4 separate regions of the Homo sapiens genome follow, and regions 2, 3 and 4 are each linked to region 1. The links are contacts of gene promoters, found by promoter capture Hi-C in human tissues and cell types (Jung and others, 2019). All regions are on one chromosome and are shown on one strand. The core of a region is centred on a gene start or on the middle of the fragment in contact, and the rest is flanking DNA. Distances in the headings are between cores, read along the strand shown. Region 1 holds the start of C17orf99 (chromosome 17 open reading frame 99). Region 2 has its middle 18 kb from the start of LINC01993. Region 3 has its middle 35 kb from the start of LINC01993. Region 4 overlaps PGS1 (phosphatidylglycerophosphate synthase 1).

Region 1 (3,991 bases), core at 366-2,865:
GCAACCAAACAGGTGCTCAAGTATTTGTTGAATGAATAAATGATTTATCAGTCAGTCTCTTAGGAGTTTAGTTAGCAGGACTTGGTTGGCAAGAATCAGAGAAGTCGGGAGCCAGCCAAGAGGGGGAGGCGGAACTGCCCTGCACAGGTACTTCCCGGAGCCCCAGCTGCCTGCTCTCTTTTTAGCAGCCACACCAACAATGTATCCGTTTTTAAAGCAAATGAGGAAATAATGGTTCAACCTGGGCCTCATTCAAGTGAGAATGGCGTCATCATTACCCTGTACCTGCCCTTTAGCAAAATAGAGGGGGAAGGCCCTGCTCTGTAACCTGATGGCCTAGCAACAAGGGGCAAGGGTTAGTTGGGACAATATAGGGAGGTGACTGTCCATCCTCACCTTAATGGACATGAGGGGAGGGGAGGGAAGGATGGGGCAAGAAAGTGCAGGCAGAAAGATGGAGCAGGCAAAGATGAGGAAGCAGGCCAGGCTAGGGGCTGTCAGGGACCTTCCCCAGCGTCCCCTCCTCCCTGGTCCTGTACCCAGCTGGGTCCCAGACACTCTCCACTCCCCACCTGCCTCTATAAGGAAGGCAGCCTCGTGTATGTCAGGCCCCTGGGGGAGCCTTAACTTCACCATCCTCTCACGGCCCTCCTCCTGGTCAGAGAATCCCAACCTCCCAGGCCCCACCAGAATTCCCCAGCCCTCCACGGGGCCTCGCCCACCGGGCAGAGCTGTGAGGGTCTCAGGGGGGGCTTCTGCTCCCGATCAGGGACCTGGGGCAGAGTGATGAGGATGCACCTGCCCAGGGAATCTTCCCTCCAAACAGCCCAGCCAAAGGCTGGAAGCTGAGCAACTTCCCTGCCTGTGTGCCCCGGAGGTCCCCACACTGGCCTGCTTGGCCTGCCCATCTCCATCACTCCTAGGGCCCTGCAGGGTGAAGAGAGTGTTCCAGAACTGTCCAGCCATCCTCCAGCACACACCTCCCCACTAGTAACTCCCTTCCCAGCCGAGGCGCCCTCCACCATGGGGGTTCTGACACCAGGGTCCCAGCTGGGGGACTTCTCCCTGCAGCAGGCTATGCCACTTACCTTCCTCCCGTGCCTTGGAGAAGCTGCTGGCAGCTGTAAGAGAGGTAAGGGCGATAAGGAGAGGGCCTGGTGTGGAGGGGAGACCAGAGACAGCCTCGAGACCCACCTGCTGAAGCCAGGAGGGAGGAGCAGGCTGATTCTTGGTAGTGAGGCCCCAGGACTCAGCTGGCACCATCACTCACAAAAGCTCTTTTGCGCCCCTCCCCCCACAACATCGCCTCTCATCCGCCCATTTCGCAGATGGGTAAGTAGTGAGCCCAGAATGGTGCAGAAATCCCTGGACCACATATACAGCAAGTTTAGGGGCTGGTCCGAGACTCAAGCCCAGATCTTTCCCTCTCTGTCCATGTTTCCAGAGGTGCCCTTCCTTCAGGCCTCATCTCTCCTGTGCTCCCAGTACCCCCACCTGAGCCCAAGACCTCAAGGCCCCAGCAGCAGCCCCACCATCACGTCCCTGGTGGACTCACCCAGCACGGCCAAGCAGAACAGCCCAGGGAGCCCCATGCCTCGGTGGGTGTAGGGCCTCTGCTCGGGCAGTGAGAACCTCCTAGTTCCTGGCCTCCCCCACCCTGAGGCCCCTGGGATGCTCCCTGGGTGGGTGCCTGCAGTGGGGAGATAACCTGGAGGCCGCAGCACCCCAGGGCCTCAGCTACCAGGGCGGGGCCCAGAGAGCCCCGGCAGGCCCGGTACAGCAAACTCCCCCTCAATCCCCAGAGAAGTGGAAGGAGTTTGGACCTTGAAGCCAGACCAGGGCTTAGACTCAGCAGTCACCTCTGAGCCGCAGGATCCCGGGCTCACGTGGTGGGCAGAAGGTGTCCATGCTCCGCGGGGCACAGTGGCTCACACCTGTAATCCCAGCACTTTGGGAGGCCTGGATGGGCGGATCACCTGAGGTCAGGAGTTCGAGACCAGCCTGGCCAACATGGCGAAACTCCATCTCTACTAAAAATCAGCCGGGCGTGGTGGCGTGCGCCTGTAATCCCAGCTACTCGGGAGACTGAGGCAGGAGAATTGCTTGAACCCAGGAGGCGGAGGTTGCAGTGAGCCAAGATCACGCTACTGCACTCCAGCCTGGGCAACAGAGTGAGATTCCATCTCAAAAAAAAAAAAAAAAAAAAAGATGTCCACGCTGTAACTTCTGGAGCCCGTGAGCACCATGCTACGCGGCAAGGGGAATGAAGGCTGTGAGTCTTCTCATTTTGAGAGGAGGAGCCCGTCCTACATGACCCAGGTGACCCTCATGTAATCACTGGGGCCTTTCCAAGCAGCTGGGGACCTGCTGGGCTGAGAAAAGGCAGCCCCACCCATGATGGTTCACAGCCGGGAGGCCAAGGCTGCACCCAGCCCCAGAATGAAACCCCAGACCGACGAGGCCCCTGGTCCTGGAGTGTGATGGGTCCTGGAGTCCTGGGTCCCGGAGCGTGGTGTGCCCAAGCACCGCCCTTCAGAAGTCCCTCAGGCCCCACTGAGGGTGGTGGGAGGTCACATGGATGGTCATTCCCCAGGGAACTGGCCCCAGTGCTGGCCTTGGCCAGCAGCAGACCCAGCTGCATCGCAGGCAGTGTGTGTGCAGAGTTCAGCCACAGAGCCTCCTGCACATGCAGGGAGGGTGGGGGTGAGCAGGGCCTCCCAGAGCCCCGAGGCCAGGGCTGGGGCCAGGCATTCCCCGGAACACAGAGAGATGTAAGGGCGCAAGGGATTGAGGCTGGGGCCCTGCCAGCTCCGCTGTGGGCCACTGCACCCGGCTTTGTGCCCAAGCTCAGCCTGGGGCTGCTGGACCAGCCTGTCACTTTCTGGCCCGGCTCAGTTTCCCACACTTTGTGTGGGGAATGCCTTTTCTGGCTGCCTCCTTCAGGAATATGTCCCCTGCCACCAGGTGACCATTGCCTCCTGTGGGAGCTGCTGCCACCTGTGGCTCCTGACCGGTCAATCACACTCTCTGCCCCTGGGCACCGTCCAGGAGTGAACACCTGACCAAGGGAGGCCACTCACAGCCCCGGCCCAGCTCTCCTCTCAGCCTTTCCCAGGCACTTGCTGCACCGGAGGCCTGGGTGTGTTGGGAAGCTGGTCTGAGGGAGTGGCCCTGCTGACCAGGGAGTGGCCAGAAGGATGGTGGGGAGGCAGGTGCAGGTGTCCTGGAGGTCACTGCAGACTGGCTCTGTTGACCCCTCGGTGGCCCCCTCTCCCAGCTGGCATGAGTCCGTTTCTGCACCTTGCTACCCATGGTCCCGGGGATGGAGGCTGCCTCCTGTGCACCCACCGGCCTCTCTGTTTTCGGTTTCTCCCAGCTGGGGAGCAAGAGCATTTTCTCTTAGTTTCTTAGTAAAACTCCCTTCCCTTCCCAAAGTCTGTTCTCACTTCTGCTGAAGGCGGGTGGGGAAGGGAACTGAAGACTGAAGGGAGCCAGAGGTCACTGGGGAGCTGGCTGGCTGCCCAGGCCCTGGGCTGCTGGCAGCCTCTTGCCTGGAGGCCAGGGAAACTCACTCTTTTTCTCCACGTGGTGGTGTTCAGGGGAACCTTGAGTTAAGGCAGCTCATGAGGAGCTCTTCCTCTTCCCAGTCTGTGGGGAAGCTGGGGTCAGAGAGCGAAGGCAGACTCATGGGCCATTTTCCCCAGGCCTTGGGGGACCCAAACATCTCTCCTGCACCCCTCCGCCCCCAGGAATCACTTGTGCACCGGTCTGGCTGACCAGTTCTCTGGGCTGCGCTGCCCCTCTGTCCAGACTGCAGAGTAAGCCAGGACACAGCAGCCACGCCTCCAAGGTCACCCCCAGGTCACCCTGTGTGGAGTTTGGGGGCCCCCAAAAGCTCTCTAGCCACCCGCTTCAGGCTGATGTTCTGTGATTTTTGCTCGCAGAGGCCACTGTCCTCTGTAACAAATGCTCTTCCCAGCGTCTCCGCGTT
Region 2 (4,054 bases), core at 602-3,101, 150 kb before region 1:
CTACAGGCATGCACCATCAAGCCTGACTAATTTTTATATTTTTAGTAGAGACTGGGTTTCACCATGTTGCCCAGACTGGTCTTGAACTCCTGGGCTCAGGTGATTCGCCTGCCTAGGCCTCCTAAAGTGTTGGGATTACAGGCGTGAGCCATAGCGCCCGGCCAAAAAGAATAGACTTTTAAATGATACTTTATTTAAATTATTTATGGATTACTTAATCTTTGTAGAAAGCTAGAAAATACGGAGAAGCATTAAAAAGAAAATTAAGGGCCGGGCGCGGTGGCTCACGCCTGTAATCCCAGCACTTTGGGAGGCCAAGGCGGGCTGATCACGAGGTCAGGAGATCGAGACCATCCTGGCTAACACAGTGAAACCCCATCTCTCCTAAAAATACAAAAAATTAGCCAGGCGTGGTGGCGGGCGCCTGTAGTCCCAGCTACTTGGGAGGCTGAGGCAGGAGAATGGCGTGAACCCGGGAGGCGGAGGTTGCAGTGAGCCGAGATCGTGCCACTGCACTCCAGCCTGGGCCAAAAAAAAAAAAAAAAAAAAGAAGTGACAGGTAGCTATAACCTGTATGGTAGAGCTCAGTGGCCCTGGCAGGCTGAGCCCCCAGGAAGAAAGAAGAGAGGGACAGAGGCTTGGCGGGGGAAAGGACAGTTTCACTTTCCACAGTACCTATTCTGTAATGTTTCTATTTTTAAAATAATGAGAAAGTGTTTCTCTTCTAAATGGAAAACAAACAAAACATGATGATCATTTTTTTGTTTTTTAAAAAGAATTCTATAAAGAACACCAAAGCTTAGCATTTGTTGTGGTCTTTTTAAAGCGGTAACTGCTGGGGTGGCCCCAGGTACAAAGTCCAGGAGGACTCCTGCTCCACTGGGGACCTCTCCCCACTGCTTGTGGGGGTGCTGTGTTTGGGTGGGGAGGACAGAGCCAGAGTAGGTCCCCATCAGGAGTGGCAGGCTGAGGAGAGGCTGAGTGAGGGCCAGGGGCTTAGTCTGCTCAGGCTGCTATGACAAAATACTTTCTTATTTATTTATTTAGAGATGGTGTTTCACTCTTGTCTCCCGGGCTGGAGTGCAATGGCGTGATCTCGGCTTACTGCAACTTCTGCCTCCCAGGTGCAAGCGATGCTCCTGCCTCAGCCTCCTGAGTAGCTAGGATTACATGCGTGTGCCACCAGGCCCAGCTAATTTTTATATTTTTAGTAGAGACGGGGTTTCACCATGTTGGCCAGAATGGTCTCAATCTCTTGACCTGGTGATCCACCCGCCTTGGCCTCCCAAAGTGCTAGGATTACAGGCGTGAGGCAGCGCGCCCGGACTGACAAAATACTTTAGACTGGGTAATTTTCTAACGACAGAAATTCATTGCTCACAGTGCTGGAGGCTGCGAAGTCCACCATCAAAGCACTGGCCGATCTGGTGTCTGGCGAGGACCCATTCCTTACAAACGGCACCTTCTTGCTGTGTCCTCATGTGGCGGAAGGGGAAACATGCTCCCTCAAGCCTCTTTTATAAGGGCATGAATCCCATTTGTGAGGGTGAAGCCCTCATGACTTAACCAGCCCCCTAAGGCCCTACCTCTTAGTACTATCCCATTAGGCATTAAGTTCCAACACATGAATCTGCGGGACACCAGCATTCAGACCACAGCAGTCACAAGCCATGAAGAAGGCGGCAAGACTCAGCCCCAGGGCCGAGGCCTGTGCTCTCCTGTGAACTCCAGCTCCTGGCATGGAACCTGGAGTGTCCAGGTGCTTTATTGTTTGCTGAATGAATAAACAAGTGTATGGATTTGGGGCAGTGTGATTGAGACATCAAGACTCGACTCAAGGCCAGGCGTGGTGGCTCACGCCTGTAATCCCAGCACTTTGGGAGGCCGAGGCAGGTGGATTGCTTGAGATCAAGAGTTCGAGACCTGCCTGGACAACATGGTGAAACCCAAAAATTAGCCAGACGTGGTGGCAGGTGCCTGTAATCTCAGCTATGCGAAGAGACTGAGGCAGGAGAATCGCTTGAAGTCGGGAGGCAGAGGTTGCGGTGAGGCGAGATTGTGCCCCTGCACTCCAGCCTGGGCAACAGAGTGAGACTGTCTCAAAAAAAGAGGCTCCACCCAAGAAGCCAGAGGGACCCCCAGAGGGAGGTTTCCATGCCAGCAGAGGTGGGGTGGCAGAGGGCAGTGCTTGGGTGGTGCAGCTTGCTGGGTGCTAAGAAGACCTCCCTGCCTGGCTCCAGGCCCGGCTCAGAGCCCACCTTCTCCTCCAGGTGGTAGCTCCTCTTCACCTCTCCCTTTTCTGTGTCACTTGAATATTTTAATGCCTGGGGGAGGTTTTGTGCTTTCCAAGGAAGACTTAGTGACTTGAATTTGAATTGAGTCAAGGCTGGCCACGGTGGCTCATACCTGTAATCCCAGCACTTTGGGAGGCCGAGGTGGGAGGATTGCTGGAGCCCAGGAGTTTGAGACCAGCCTGGACAAAATAGTAAGACCCTATCGACAAAAAAAAGAATTGAAAATTATCTGGGTGTGGTGGTGCGTGCCTGTAGTCCCAGCTACTTGGGAGGCTGAGGTGGGAGGATTGCTTGAGCCCAGGAGTTTGAGATTAGCCTGGACAATTTAGTGAGACCTCTCACTAAGTCATCTCGCTAAAAATTTTTTTTAAAAAATTAGTCGGGCATGGTGGCATGCACCTGTAGTCTAAGCACTTTGAGAGACTGAGGTAGGAGGATTGCTTGAGCCTGGGAGGTTGAGGCTGCAGTGAGCCATGATTACAGCACTGCACTCCAGCCTGGGCAACAGAGTCTAGTCTCAAAAAAAAAAAGAGTCAATATATCAAGTGTAAAAGTTGTCAATATTAAAACCTACCTTTACTTAGACCTTGCATTCCAAAATCCAACAAGTTTTAGCATTCTCTTTATAAATCTAATTTTAATATGAAAACACAATCACTTTCACTTGGGCTATGCTCAATTAACTCATACATTTAACACACTGATTACTTCTTATGCATTTAACCACACTGACCTTTTTTTCTTTTTTTTTGAGACGGAGTCTTGCTATGTTGCCCAGGCTGGAGTGCAGTGGCGTGATCTCGGCTCACTGCAACCTCCGCCTCCTGGGTTCACGCCATTCTCTTGCCTCAGCCTCCCGAGTAGCTGGGACTACAGGTGCCCACCACCACGCCGGCTAATTTTTTGTATTTTTGGTTGAGACGGGGTTTACACTGTGTTAGCCAGGATGGTCTCGATCTCCTGACCTCGTGATCCGCCCGCCTCGGCCTCCCAAAGTGCTGGGATTACAGGTGTGAGCCACCGCGCCCGGCCTCACACTGACCTTCTTAAATAACACAAGAGCCTCGGGAGTACAGATCTAAAATCACACCTTCGATGCTGCTGGAGTCTCCGAAGCACCTGGCCAGGCCGCCTACAAATCAGCATGTGAATTCTTCCAGAACGCGTAGGCAGCTCCTGTAAATTGAGGAAATCAGACTCGTAAAGGCTGTGACTCAGGTTCTCCTCATCATCTCGAACACCATCAAAACAACAATAGAGACACAGAGCAGCATTCACTTCGCGGATGGTTGCAACATAGGAAAAGCAACCACTCACCAGGGCTTTCTTGGATTTCTTGCAAATTACCGTACTCTCTCCGCCCAGGGGTCACCAGCCAGGGCTGCTAAGCACCTAAGATCGCGGGGAGGGTGTTGGCCTGGGATTCCCGGCCAGGATGCAGGACTAGCCTTAGTTCTGGGATATTCTCCCGACTTTAAGGAGGGAGGCCTCTTCCTGTGGTCAGTGGCCATGGCCTGTGAGCCTGGACTTGCGGCCAGGGTAGGATCAACACACAATTCCCCCTTCACCACCATGTCACATGCCCCCAGGCATTGCAGCCGCCAGGGTCTGGGGTCCTCACTCTCGCTTTCCCAGCTGCATCCCACCAGCAACCACAATTGGCCTTGGCGTGTACTCTTCATCCAGACTGCAGCTGCCTCCCTACAGTACTCTGGGGAGTCTGCCCTGCTCTTCATGGTCACACTCTCCACCTGCCTCAC
Region 3 (3,832 bases), core at 1,283-3,782, 170 kb before region 1:
TAAATGGGTTCTTTCTCTGAATCTGCAGGACCCTGCAGGACCCTGCCTGGCCTCTGGGGTGTGTTCCTAACCACTTTGCCTTCTGGGTTCACTCAGGGCTGTCATCCCCCCGCCTATCTGTGCCCATCTGGCAGCAGAGCAGATCAGGAGGGCAGCCTGCAGCCCCCAGGCCCACCTCCGGGCAAGAGGGAGATGCCACTCCCTTTATTTTACAGAAGAAGAAACTGAGGCTCAGAGAGGTGCGAGGTCACTGGGCCAGGGAGCAGCAGACGCAAGATTTGAACCCAGATCTCAAGGCATCCTCACTTACCCTAGTCTGCCATCTGCTACACTCCACTGCAGGCTGTGAAGCCGAGACCAGGGCCCCGAAAACAGCTCAGCCCTGGGCCTCATGAGGCAGGATGACGTGAACCAGGGGGCGGGTGGGGGTTTTGTCTCCAGCTCTGGGGAGGGGGGCGCCCAGCAGGATACAGCCACTAAACCCAGGTCTCCAAAGTGGGACATGTATAAGACAACTCACTGGCATACGGAAAGGAAAACAACCCCTCTGTTTCTATTTTTTAATTCATCCTCTTTAAATCTCAACTTCTATGGATACATAATATATAAACCCAGTAATAAAGTGCCTATGGTTTATAAATAAATAAATATACACGCCCGGGGAGAAAAGTGCCCCCACCCCCACTGCAGTGGTCGCACCTTGCCTAGTAGGTGCTCAATAAACATTTCTGTGACTGGGGCAGCCAGGAGGCAGCTCTTCCTGTGTCAGGAGACACACCCACCCCCAGCACCTCCTCCAGCCGAGCCCACCTGCGCCCTGGGCAGGGCGTGGCTGCGGGCTTGGCTCCCCGCCTCCGCCTGGCCCTGGCGTGGCGCCACCTTCCACCGGGTGGCCGCGAGAATACCGGGAAGGGAGGCGGGTTCGCCTCGCAGCTGCTGAAAGCCCGCCCCACGGCTTCCCCGGGCTGCCCCCAGCTCCCTCCCTCCTCCCGCTCACCCTGGGGAGAGCGGCGCTGGGAGGCCCTGGGCGCCCTCAGGACGGGACGGGTCCCCGGGGGTGGCACGCGCCCAGGGTGGCCCAGCAGGGCGCGGCAGCCTGGGGCGCCCGAGCACCTGGCTCGGCCCTGCCCTCGGCCAAGGGCCGCCCCGGGCTCCAGCCGCCGAGCCTTGCGCCGCTCGGGAGCACGTTTCCAGTAAGCGCGAGCAAGTGGAGCCGGGCCGAGTTCCCGACAGCCCGGCCCGGGCACGGGCTCGCAGAGAAGCCGGGGCCGCGCCGCAGCGGCTGCATCCGCACCACGATCAATGCGCACCCGCGCCGCTCCGGGCTCCCTTCCTGCCCGTGGAGCGGCGGGGGTCCGAGGTCGTCCGAGCCCGCTGGGCTGCAGGTCCCCGCGCCCCCGCCCCATCATGCCTGGGTCCTCGGTCCCCTCATTCCTGTCTCTGCTGGACAAGCCTCCAACAGTCAGTCCTGCCCAAGAGCTGCGAGGAGCATTAACCTGGCGCGGTGCTTAGGGCCCTGCCTGGAGACCCCCGCATTGGCCACTGCTCTTACTATCAGATACCAAATCCTAGACTTTGGAAGCTGAACCAGCCAACCCCGTCTCTTAACTACAACTATTTTCTACGCTCACCCTTCCCCCAGCTTTTTTTTTTTTTTTTTTTTTTTTTGGCAGAGTCTTGCTATGTCACCCAGGTTGGAGTGCAGTGGTGCCATCTCGGCTCACTGCAACCTCCACCTCCCGGGTTCAAGTGATTCTTCCACCTCAGCCTCCCAAGTAGCTGGGACTACAGGCGCGCGCCAACACACCTAGCTAATTTTTGTATTTTTTGTAGAGATGAGGGTTCACCATGTTGGCCAGGCTGGTCTCGAACTCCTGACCTCAAATGATCCGCCCGCCTTGGCCTCCCAAAGTGCTGGGATTACAGGCATGAGCCACCATGCCCAGCCAGTGGCCTGTGTTTGTTACTGCCTGAGACTCCTCTCAAGGGCAGGGGCTGTGTCACGGGTATCTCCTATTGCAAGCTTGGTTCACGACCTGGCCTGCAGCGGGACGGCTGTATTATATACAGATGGGGTTACCCCAGGTAGAACCACGACCATATGAGGTGCTGGCCAAGGGGGAGGGATTATGGCTAGATGGTGGAAGGAGGAAGTTATCAGTAGAAACTATGGCAGAGTGAGGGACCACCATACACCTTTCCCCTTTATCCTGTTCATTTTTGTTTATGTTAACTAATTTCCTTTTTTCCCTCTTTTTTTTTCCTTACTATTCTACATAAAGTATAGGACCCAGGGTCACCACATAATGTTGTCCAGGCTGCACACTGCACAATTCCAAGAGGGCACTATTGGAAAAATCTATATTGCAAATGATACTTATGCCTCTGGGGGCCCTGGGGATGGGTGACTTTAATTAATCTCATGGGATTTCTGCCCAGAAGAGGAGTGAGCACCACCCACAGCTGGAGAGTGACTGATCAGAACATCAGGTTTTTCATTCTGGGGAGAGGGTGTGTGTGTGTGTGTGTGTGTGTGTGTGTGTTTGGGGCACAGTTGTATAGCATTAGGTGAAAGCTCTTGCTGCTTTTTATGCCATGGTGTGGAAGATCAGCAAGATGCTGGCTGGTGGAATCAGCTCCTTTAATCTTTTTTTTAGATGGTTGGTGTCTTGGTCCATTCATGCTGCTTTAGCAAAATACCTAGACTGGGTAATTTTCAAAGAACAGAAATGTATTTCTCACAGTTCTGGAGGCTGAGAAGTCCAAGATCATGGTGCTGGCAGGTTTGGTATTGGTGAGGGCTGCTCTCTGCTTCCAAGATGGTGACTTGGTGCTGCACCCTCCGGAGAGAATGAACACTGCATCCTTACAGGGCAGAAGGGATGGAAGGGCAAAAAATGAGCTGAATTGAACACTCTACAAAGCCTTTCTTTCTTTCTTTCTTTCTTTCTCTCTCTCTCTCTCTCTTTCTTTCTTTCGACAGAGCCTCGCCCTGTGTCACCCAGGCTGGAGCGCAGTGGCGCCATCTCAGCTCACTGCAACCTCTGCCTCTCAGGTTCAAGTGATTCTCCTGCCTCAGCCTTCCGAGTAGCTGAGATTGCAGGCCTGGGCCACCACACCCAGCTAACTTTTTGTATTTTTAATAGAGACGGGTCTCGCCATGTTGACCAGGCTGGTCTTGAACTCCTGACCTCAGGTGATCTGCCAGCCTTAGCCTCCCAAAGTGCTGGGATTATAGGCGTGAGCCACCACGTCCAGCCTTCAAAGCCTCTTTTATAAAGGTCTTAATCCCATTCACGAGGGAGAAGCTCTCCTGACCTAATCACCTCCCAAAGAACCCACCTCTTAACACTATTGCATGGAGTTATGATGGGGGTTACATTCAGACCACAGCAGTGGGAAAGCTAGAAACTCTTTCCCAGGTTCTCTCTAGATGTGACTTTCTCTCTGCAAATCAATGCGTTCTTGTGGGATTGGAAAGTGGAAGGAAGACAGACTCTTGTCTTTCTGCAGCTGCATGGGTATGAAAGTGGGTTCCAGCAGAAGCACTGGTTGGCAGTGGCTCCATTTCCCATTCTGCCATCTCAGTGCCTGATTTGTGGGTGTGGGAGTGGGGAGGATCGGGGACTGTGGTGGAGGCGTGGCCTTACCCCAGAAAGCTTTGACCTTCCATCTCTCCCAGTGATTGTTTTTCTCAAGCCCATGAATCTTTTCCAATGATTTTATGAATTCCTGATTCCTTATGTTAAAATCCCTTTTGGCTTGAACCACCTGAGGTGGATTCGCCTTGCACAGAACCCTGACAGGTACACAGTGCAAAATGCAGCAATGG
Region 4 (4,195 bases), core at 531-3,030, 250 kb before region 1:
AACCAAAAAAGGAGCATGCGTATTCCACAGATGGGGTCACAGGGCAAGCCATCACCTTGGATAAGCACATCACCATGTGGGAAAGCTTCCCACAGCAGTGACAGTGCCTGAGAGAGAGGAAGAACGGGCAGGCTCAGGCTCTGCATGGGGTGCCTTTTGTATTCGGACAAGACACTGGTGACAGGTGACCATGCAGACACACTGAAGGGAAAGATGCTATTATCAGACAAGACAAAGCTGAAAATTAATGAGTTAAGCATCCAACTCAGGAAGACAGGGGAAAGAAACAACAGAATAAAACCAAGAATACAGTATAGGGAAGCAAAAAATAAAAATAAGAACAGGCCGGGCACAGTGGCTCACGCCTATAATCCCAGCACAGCACTTACGGAGGCAGGAGCGGGCAGATCACCTGAGGCCAGGAGTTTGAGACCAGCCTGACCAACATGGTGAAACCCTGTCTCTACCAAGAGTACAAACATTAGCCAGGTGTGGTGTTGTGTGCCTGTAACCCCAGCTACTCGGGCAGCTGAGGCTGGAGAATCACTTGAACCTCGGAGGCAGAGGTTGCAGTGAGCTGAGATCGTGCCACCACACTCCAGCCTGGGTGACGAGAGCAAAAACTCCATCTCAAAAATATATACATACATATGTGTGTGTGTGTGTGTATATATATATATATATATATATATATATATGAATAGAAATTACTAGAATGAAAATGATACAAAAATGGAGAATATCAACTGTCCAAAGTTGATTGTCTGATAAACGATTGATAAAACAACAAGGCTTTGGCAAGGCTGATCAGGGAAGTGAAACAGGGAAGGAGGGCTGTCCCAGGTCATCCTTGCTGGCTTGCATGGTCTGAGCTGGGGGCAGGAACAGACACTCAGTGCCTTTCAGGGCTGGGCTACAGAACAAAGAGAAGGACCATCCCATGCAGGAGTCTAGCCTGTTGATGCCAACACCCTCCAGGGGAGAAAGGAGTCACACTGCCACATGCTGGACAGGGCTGCCGGAGGGAGGAGCACCGGGGGGCCCTGCGCACACCCTGAGCCTCTCTGTGGACTCATTCTCCCAAGCACAGCTGGGCTCGAGTCTCCCCGCTCCTGCTCGGAGCGTGCTGGCTCTCATCCTGGCCTAAGCATGGCCTGTTTTCTCTCATATCCATGCCTGGCCCGTTACATTAGACCAGGGATCCACACACATTTTCTTTAAGGGTCAGATGGTAAATATTTTAGGCTTTCTGGGCCAAAAGGCAAAGCTGAGGATGCTAGGTAGGCACTCAGCAAGAGAGATACAGAGCTCCACAAGCTCTTTACAGATGAAATTCAAAATACAACAGTAGGAACAGTGCATGGCGGCAGGCAGAGCATCACACCATCACGGTCGGGGTCTGAGGCCCAGGGCTCCCCTGACACAAGGACAGGGCTTCCACCAGACGGCCCACTGAAATGCTTCCATTCTAGGTCCACAAGACGCAGAGAGCTCTTCTCCCAACAAGTTCCAACTTCAGCTCCTCCTCCCCAAGTTCAGACACTGCTGCAAATCCAGCAGCAGCTCTCTAAAGGCCATGGGGGAGCCACAGCCGCAGGAATCACAGGAATGCAAATGCCCCAGAACACTCACGCCAGAACCTGCCTGGTTCCAGTGGGCAGAGCTGAGAGCTCTTCCACTTCATTTTCCAGGCAGGGGGCCACAGAGCTCAAGGGAGCTGGGAGCCACAGGCCCAGGTGATAGGCTTGGGGAAATGGGCCCTAGGCGAACAGCTGCTGGCCTGGTTGCTTCCTGTGATGCAGGGCAGGCTTCTGGGTCACTCGCCCAGGCACACGTGTTCATTGCTGAGTAGCTATTTGTTAACTGCGTCCTGACCTGAGTTTGTCACCCCCCTGCTAGTTCACCTGAGACCTGGGTCACTAGGACACGCTGCTGCATACCCTTGCCTGAGTCCTCCTCACCTGCGTCTTCCCTCCCTGTAGTGCAAACCTGAGTGACTCCGCCTCAAGGAGTAGGAGTCCCAAGCCCAAGCTCCCACCTTTCTGGGCTGGCTCTCTCACCCACAGAGCATGACTGATGGTCAGTGAGTCACATCTGTCTGGCTTCAAGGACAAAAGCAGAATGAAGCCTTGCCACCCAAGTCCCCTATGCCTGTGGCAGAACCACCTAGAGTTGTGCTCTCCCGGGCCCTCACTCCACCCCACCCACAGCCATAGAAGGGTGTCAGCGGCAGCCCCTACCTTTGTAAGGATGCACCATCCCATCCACCACCTGCACCGTGTCGTCCCCCTGCAGCTGCAGGGACACATCCCCCACCGCGTCCACCAGCTCCGTGAAGAAGTCGGCAATCTCCGCACAGTCCTGCAGGAACACGTAGCGGTCCTGGCGGTTGGTGAAGTAGGAGTCACTCAGGTTTGCACTACAGGGAGGGAAGATGCAGGTGAGGAGGACTCAGGCAAGGGTATGCAGCAGCGTGTCCTGGTGACCCAGGTCTCAGGTGAACTAGCAGGGGGGTGACAAACTCAGGTCAAGATGCAGTTAACAAATAGCTACTCAGCAATGAACACGTGCAAAAGACAAAGCCAGAGTTGATCCAAGGTGACACAGCAAAGTGACCCACAGCCTCCTCCTCTCAAGGAGCCGACAGTGTAGCTGAGAAGAGGAGATGCAGACACAGAAAGTCAACTAACCACACAGGGCTTTTTTTTTTTTTGAGACAATCTCATTCTGTCGCCCAGGCTGGAGTGCAGTGGCATGATCTTGGCTCCCTGCAGCCTCCGCCTCCCAGGTTCAAGTGATCCTCCTGCCTCAGCCTCCCGAGTAGCTGGGATTACAGGTGTGTGCCACCACACCCAGCTAATTTTTGTATTTTTAGTAGAGACGGGGCTTCACCATGTTGTCCAGGCTGGTCTTGAACTTCTAACGTCAGGTGATCCCTCTGCCTCAGCCTCCCAAAATGTGGGATTACAGGCGTGAGCCACTGCGCCCGGCCCATGCAGGGCTATTTATCAGCGCCCATGTTTGTTTGTTCTCTCTGTCCCACTAAGTGACAGCTGCCACTGGTACAGTCCCAGAGCAAGGATGCAATCAAGGGCTTTCTCTCAGCACCAGCAACCCAATCCTGGCCCCACTGCCGAGGGGAGGGCCTGTGAAAGGGCCCATATTTATCAGCCTAAGGACCTGGACTTCCAGGTCTGACTCTTGTTTATTTTTCTGGCTCTGTCTACCTGACAAAGTGACTCATCCTCTCTGATCTGTTTCCACATGTACACAGTGAGGAAAATACTACAGAGGGTCACTGAGGGTGGAAACAGACAACATACCTGAGTGGCCAGCACAGACTAAGTGCCCTGTCAACAGTGGCTTCCAGTCAGCCCCCGGGGAATTCTAGCCTCAGTGGCAGAGACAGTGTCGGGGAGGTGCCGCGGGTGCACAGCAGCCAGACCTACAAGCAGGTTCTCCAAGACTGAGGGGAACGGGTTTCCCACTGTTCCTATTCCACTGCCCTCCAGCCTGCAGAGCAGGAGGGCAAAAGCACTGACGGTGGGAAGCACTCACCCGCTCAAGATGACGCTGTTGTCGAAGAGGTACACCTTAATGTGCTGGAGGCCGATGGTCTCGTTGAAGCGCTCAGGGATGAGGAGCCGAAGCAGCCCACGGAGGTGCGGCGTGTGAAAGAGGGAGACTCGGACCTGCTCTGGGAACCTCCGCAGGAGTGGGAGCAGCATTGTGCGGGAGTTCTTCCGGCCTGAACACGGACAGAGAAAACGGCACCTGACTCACAACAGGAAGGCGTCCTGCCCCCAATGAGGAGCCACCTCCACGTGGCCTCGCCTTCACCTGTGCCGTCCACCTGAATCAGTCACACCAGCTGGGGCTACTCCTAGCCAGAGGACTTCCAGGCCAACCTCTGTCCTGCATGCTGGCCATGTCTCAGGCCTGAAGTCCTCAGCGTGGCAGACGCCTGCTCTTCTTGCCACACAGCACCCATTCACCCTTCTCCTGGTAACTGCACCCAACCTTCTCCTGGGGCACTACCCCACCCACTCGCAGCATTTCTGCTCTGGGTGAAGACGACCCTACCCACCTTGCCCCTCACCCCCAGCTCCATGAGGGAGCACGCAGGCCTGGGCTGGGCTACTCGGCACACTCCAAGCTCCCAGCTGGGCATGCCACCGTCAGGCCAGTCAGGAGC

The links. Contacts are between HindIII fragments. The study calls those that stand out against the background at their distance.
Region 2: a contact is called between a fragment that was not itself captured here and the fragment with the promoter of C17orf99 in region 1, in 2 of the 25 tissues and cell types used here (bladder and thymus).
Region 3: a fragment that was not itself captured here is called in contact with the fragment with the promoter of C17orf99 in region 1 in 1 of the 25 tissues and cell types used here (dorsolateral prefrontal cortex).
Region 4: a fragment that was not itself captured here is called in contact with the fragment with the promoter of C17orf99 in region 1 in 2 of the 25 tissues and cell types used here (lymphoblastoid cells and spleen).

Annotation. Positions count from the first base shown.
Region 1 is chr17:78,144,009-78,147,999 of GRCh38, reverse strand. It overlaps C17orf99 (chromosome 17 open reading frame 99), which reads right to left and starts at 1,615. Exons shown (of 5, transcript NM_001163075.2): 1 at 1,556-1,615; 2 at 1,089-1,121. The coding sequence starts at 1,592. RefSeq lists an enhancer at 373-592. The HindIII fragment of the contact is 10,351 bases long and covers 1-3,991 here.
Region 2 is chr17:78,294,451-78,298,504 of GRCh38, reverse strand. No RefSeq gene overlaps it. Among named protein-coding and RNA genes, the nearest start is that of LINC01993, 18 kb to the right of the region's middle. The HindIII fragment of the contact is 9,751 bases long and covers 1-4,054 here.
Region 3 is chr17:78,311,440-78,315,271 of GRCh38, reverse strand. No RefSeq gene overlaps it. Among named protein-coding and RNA genes, the nearest start is that of LINC01993, 35 kb to the right of the region's middle. RefSeq lists an enhancer at 1-139 and a silencer at 805-1,274. The HindIII fragment of the contact is 4,231 bases long and covers 417-3,832 here.
Region 4 is chr17:78,398,901-78,403,095 of GRCh38, reverse strand. It overlaps PGS1 (phosphatidylglycerophosphate synthase 1), which reads right to left. Exons shown (of 10, transcript NM_024419.5): 5 at 3,559-3,748; 6 at 2,241-2,419. LOC124900399 (small nucleolar RNA SNORA30/SNORA37 family) reads right to left here and starts at 3,161; the gene lies at 3,033-3,161. RefSeq lists an enhancer at 2,063-2,568. The HindIII fragment of the contact is 6,850 bases long and covers 1-4,195 here.